Regions from separate parts of the Homo sapiens genome. Here region 1 is linked to region 2. Evidence: promoter capture Hi-C in 16 types of primary human blood cells and fetal thymus (Javierre and others, 2016). All regions are on one chromosome and are shown on one strand. Each heading gives the region's core, a stretch centred on a gene start or on the middle of the fragment in contact. The rest is flanking DNA. Distances are from core to core; before and after follow the strand shown.

Evidence for each region. The method cuts DNA at HindIII sites, captures the fragments that hold promoters and counts their contacts. A CHiCAGO score of 5 or more calls a contact.
Region 1: a contact is called between a fragment that was not itself captured here and the fragment with the promoter of MEAK7 in region 2, in 1 of 17 cell types (fetal thymus). The highest score is 5.0, in fetal thymus.

What each region holds. Positions count from the first base shown.
Region 1 is chr16:84,084,405-84,087,104 of GRCh38, reverse strand. MBTPS1 (membrane bound transcription factor peptidase, site 1) reads left to right here. Exons shown (of 23, transcript NM_003791.4): 10 at 1,971-2,122. Among named protein-coding and RNA genes, the nearest start is that of MBTPS1, 31 kb to the left of the region's middle. RefSeq lists a silencer at 2,125-2,174. The HindIII fragment of the contact is 380 bases long and covers 1,096-1,475 here.
Region 2 is chr16:84,503,231-84,505,930 of GRCh38, reverse strand. MEAK7 (MTOR associated protein MEAK7) reads left to right here and starts at 1,272. Exons shown (of 8, transcript NM_020947.4): 1 at 1,272-1,330. LOC124903736 (a long non-coding RNA gene) reads right to left here and starts at 1,129. Exons shown (of 2, transcript XR_007065149.1): 1 at 996-1,129. RefSeq lists enhancers at 812-931, 294-1,241, 1,362-1,862 and a silencer at 1,482-1,531. The HindIII fragment of the contact is 3,004 bases long and covers 1-2,570 here.

The DNA of each region.
Region 1 (2,700 bases), core at 36-2,535, 420 kb after region 2:
CCAGTTTAACTTATTAATTGATTTCTGAGGAACTCACCTTTAGGTGAATTGGGTTCCTGCCCGTTTACCCTATCTAGTAGTGGTAAGCAGTCCTCCTCAGTGGTAGGTGAGATGATATTTTTTGGGGGAGGGGAGCCTTAAGAAGTTGGAGAAACCATTGAGAACAGCTTAATATCAACTCTGCTAACACAGAAACAATTGTATTTAGCTGGACAAATTCAAAATAACTGCTACAGTTAATAATTCAGCTGTTTGGGGTTTAATTATGCAGCACATTCACCCACCTTTACCTGTCAAAGTTTGATGAAAAATTAGACGCTCGTGCAGAACAGCAGTTGGGCACCTTTGCCCTCGCTGTGGCCGAGGGGAGCATCTGCCCTTCTCATTCTTCAGGGTCAGAGCATCTCTTGGTGTTTAACGTCACATGCCACACTCGGAGGCCTCAGATAAGTCCCTGGAAAGATTCCCAACTGCCTGGGAACACTGTGGGCCTCGTCCACACTGTAGCCACTTTACAGGATAGCCTTCTGCCTGAGCCTTTGTCCTGTGACAGCGTCAGCCCCCAGCGTCCCCGCCACTCAGCCCCACCAGGGGTCCCCGCCTCCCACACTCACGTGCCTCTTCCTGGAGCTGACCTGTTGGCTGGGGACCATTCTCTCATGTGACAGTCTGTGCAGGGCAGGCTGCGTGTCCTCCCATCCACGCTCCCTCAGCATGTTCCTTGTGCTGCCGGATAATGGGAAACTGCATCCACCACTTTGTCCCCAGCTCCCTGTGTAAATGCTCTCACCGAACTGTGGTGAGATGTCATCCACTTTGTCCCCAGCTCCCCGTGTAAACGCTTTCACCAAACCGTGATGAGATGTCACGTCCATGGCCTTCATCACCAGCCAGCTTTTTAATGGCATTTGAGAAATGTCCTTCCATCATCACAGCTGCAGTGGAGGATGCCTTTACTCGGTATCCCAGTATGTGCATCCATGGTCCTTGGGTTTGATGGTCAGAAAAGGGCTTCCCTTCAAATTGGGCTCCTGTTTTCTGACAGAATATGAGATCCTATTCTAATTTTCGTTTTGCCCCAATTCTTAAGAAGCTTAAGCAAGTACTTATTAAAACGTTATCCCAAGTTAGTCGTGTGGTTATCTTGTTCCTTCTCAGTGGTTTCTTATTTCCTCTTTTACAACCGTTTGAAACATCCACTCATACCGTGTACTTTTTTCCTTGTAAAGAAACATGTTTGGGTTTTTTTACATTTTAATTTTCTAATTTTTCTAACATATTTCTAATTTTAACTTATCTAGAGATAAAGCAGTTTCCAGTTTCTGGTCTTGGTGATAAGCCAGTGTCCACTTTCCAGTCTGGCATGTCAGCAAAATTAAAATACTTATCTTTTAATTGCTTTATGCCTTTGCCATTGTTCTGGTTGTTATAAAATATATTTTTAAAAATTTACTTTCTACATTATCGTTTAAGCTTATTTTCTGTATTGTAGTGAATTTCTTTGTTTTTTTCTCTTTTTTTTTGGGGGGGGGGCGGGTGCGGGGCTGAGGGGGACAGGATCTCACTGTGTTGCCCAGGCTGGAGTGCAGTGGCACAATCACGGCTCCCTGCAGCCTTGACCTCCCGGGCTCAGGTGATCCTCCTGAGTAGCCGGGACTACAGGCTTGTGCCACTACATCTGGCTAATTTTTGTATTTTTTGTGGAGATGGGGGTCTTACTGTGTAGCCCAGGCTAGTCTGGAACTCCTGGGCTCAAGCAGTCCACCTGCCTCGGCCTCCCAGAGTGTTGGGATTACAGGTGTGAGCCTTGCGCCTGGCCTGGAGTGAATTTCAGACTAAAACCAGTACCTTCCTAAGGTTATACAGTTTTTAACTAACCCATATCTCTGTTCTGATTTGATTCACTCATGATTGCATGCGGCTGTATGCCAATGTGCGAGATGTAGCAACCAAGCTGCTTTTATTCATAGGAGCTACCAGGAGGCTACGGTCGCATGAAACCTGACATTGTCACCTATGGTGCTGGCGTGCGGGGTTCTGGCGTGAAAGGGGGGTGCCGGGCCCTCTCAGGGACCAGTGTTGCTTCTCCAGTGGTTGCAGGTGCTGTCACCTTGTTAGTGAGGTGAGTGCTGCCCCCTAGAGACCAGTAGCTCCCACGTCAGGACAGGAGCACTCGGTGCCAGCAGAGCAGGAGTCGTGTCTTGCTTCTGCCCTGTCTTGGGTTTGAGAGCTTAGGCCCTTCACAGCCTTGCTCTGTCTCTCCTTCTTCATCTCTGCAAAGAGGTAGGAGTCACTTCTTTTATAGTTAGATGAAGTGAATGTGAACACACTTTATAAGCCTAAGTAAACAAAGTGCTGATAGGCAAAATAACCTGTTTCTTTATGTTTGTGTTCTGTTTTCTAATATCCCATTTATGTGCTAGAACTGTGATTTTTATATCCAAGCAAGCATAAATATCAGGCAGGGAACAAATAGTAAGATATTTCCCTGCCATATATCCTCCATTTCCTTGGGGATTCACTTTAAAAAAGAAAAACAAAAAACAAATCCTACTGCGTATATGTAAGATATACAACATGATGTTATGGAATACATATAGATAGTAAAAAGGAGGTTACTCTAGTGAAACGAATGAACACATCCATCTTCTCACAGTGTTACCCATTTGTTGTTTTTGTGAAGGGGACTCACCTTTTAAT
Region 2 (2,700 bases), core at 23-2,522:
TGGATCTCAGAGCAATGTCTTGGTGAGGGGCCCTACCTTGTGCACTGTCACCAGCCAGGCCTGCTGCCCTCAGGCAGAAAGCCTTCTATTTTTGTTCCAGCTTAAAGAATAAGAGGTGACCAGCCGGGTGCAGTGGCTAACCCCTACAATTCTAGCACTGTGGGAGGCCGAGGCAGGCAGATCACCTGAGGTCAGGAGTTCGAGACCAACTCAAGCGGACGTTGGCGGGCGAAGTCACGGTTTTCCAGGCTGGAAAACCAGCAGGCCGTGCAGGGGAGAGAACTGGTACCATGGACATGCGGGAGCTGAATCTGCAGGAAGGTGGACCCCAGGGAGGATGCGTGGGGTGGAGAGAGTAGGGAGAAGTCGAGAAACTCCAGGGCAGAAGCCAGAAGGGCCCAGGGAAGACCACCAGGGACAGCGAGCGAGCCAGGGCCAGGAATGGGCGCCGGGGTGCCCAAGAGAGAGGTCTGATGAGAGCACGATCACCAAGCGCCAAATGCTGCCTGCGAGGACCCAAAGCGCACCTCGGATGTAGTGAGCAGGCCCCCGGGACCAGGTTTCGGTGGGTTTGAGAAGGAACGAGCTGAAGAAGTGGGGTGACAGGTTCAGACGTCTTGGAGTGAACGGGAACCGGCTGAAGAGGCGCACGTGGGGTGGAGGGAGTCTGTTTAGCCAGGCTGTGGAGCTGGCGCCTGATGGCTGCCGGGAAGGACCTGGTGCCAGGGAAGAGCGAGGCAGGGGCAGCTGGCAGAGGGAGGCCCGAGGGGAGGCGGACCCGAGGCTCTAGGCCAGGACCAGCAGGCCGGGGAGTCAGGGGAGAGTTGCCTGGGGCCCAGGAGGCTGCACTGCAGAGGCCTCTGCATGGGCTCCACATGGGCCACTCTCCTCCCCCGGGTGTCTTCACCCCCAAGCTCAGCCTCTCCCCCAGGATCTCCCACACCCTGGCTACTCCGCTCCAGCGCCCAGCCCAGACACCCCTTCTCCCCAGGTACCACTGCTGGCCTGGCCTGGCCTGAGTCATTGGCCGCCCTCTCCAGGCGCCTCCTTGGTACGCACGCAGCCGGGCCGGATTCCCGGGCCTGCAGCCGCTCCTCCCGCAGACCGCGGCCCCGCCCCGAGCCGCACCCACCGGGTTCGGCTCACTCCCTGTGAGGCGCGTCACCATTGGCTGACTCCTCTCTTGGGTTCCGCCCCACACCTCCGCTTCCACGATTGGACCAAATGACTGCCCCTCAGCAATGTTGCCTGGCAACAGGGAAGGGGCGGCTCTCGAGAGGAGCCCGTGGGCTGCTGGACCGGACCGGACAGCACCAGGAAGCCCGGCAGGGTAGGTACCTGGGCTGAGGTTCGCAGTGAGCTGACCCAGAGGCGCAGGCCCAGCTGAGTCGGGGGACTGGAGCAGACGGGTCCAGAGTAGGCCTGGGCCCTGCCCCTCCCTGGCCTCCCACGCCTCTTCAGGCCCTCGGGTCGGGGGAGGGAGAGGTGAAGGCTGCGGGGAGGTGAGGGGTGGGGACAGCGGGGCGGGATGGAGGGAGGGTCTCCTGGGGGGGATCAGAATCATCCTGCACCTCCCGCTGTTTATGTGGTCAAGGTAAGAGGGTGGCGAGGTGCTTCCCCCAGGGCCAAGGCCAGCCGTGTTGAAGGGGGATTCAGAGCCTGTGTAGACGCGGAAAGGGAGGGGTGCCTCCACGGAGGAGGCGAGTCTGGGGTAGACACTGAAGTGTGTGTGGAGGGGGTTTTCCTTCTTGTATTCTGACCACACCCATCTGGGCTTTTCCAGGACAGTGAGCTGATAACTGTTCCCAGGCCATGTAGGTGGCCAGCACAGGACAGGTCACCTTCTGGCCCACAGGAACTTCTTGCCCAGGCTCAAGCTGCCCCTTCGCACAAGGGCCTCTGGGCTCTGAGACACAGACAGGACTTCGAAGCCTGTCCAGATGAGGCAGTTGGAATCTCCCCAGCTTGTGGGGGTACGGAGGGACCCTTGTGTGGCTCTAGGGATGCGGGGCCCTTGGAGTAGAGAGTTGGAGCTTGGCAGCCAGGGTGGGAAGCAGCCATGTAACAGCCTGTTGGAGAAGCTCTGAGCAGGAGGTGACTAAGCCATTCCTAGGATACTAGTGGGAACCTTGGGGGCCATCCTGCAGACAATCGGTCCCTGTCCACCCCTCCATCACGGAGGCAGAGCAACCTTCCGTTTCTTCCAAGCAGGGCAGTTTCTCTTGTTCTAAGACAAGATCCCAAGGAGCCATTCTCTGTTGTCTTGGGCCCATTATTCTGTCTCTGACCTCCAGTAAGCAGATCAAATGCCCTGGGTTACCTTATTTAATCTTCTCAACCTTATGTTAAAGAAATTAATTAATGATGCTTATTAAAAGCACATTAATTATTGAAGACCATTGCAATGGGTATAGGGACCACAGCAATGGGATTTTGTAGTAAAGGAGAGAGATTGGGCTCAACTCTGATTATAGCATGGGCAAGTGGGAAGCCAGGAAGCAGGGTGGGGATCAGTGGATGGAAGATGACTGAGGAAACATCAGGGCGCTAGGGTGGATTCTGGGTAAGCTTACCTAGCAGTTTGTTACTGAAGGCAGGCCAGGGTGATCAGACATCACCTAGGGCAAGCTCGTCCAACCCGTGGGCCATATGTGGCCTAAGGCGGCTTTGAATGACATCCAACACAAATTCATAAGCTTT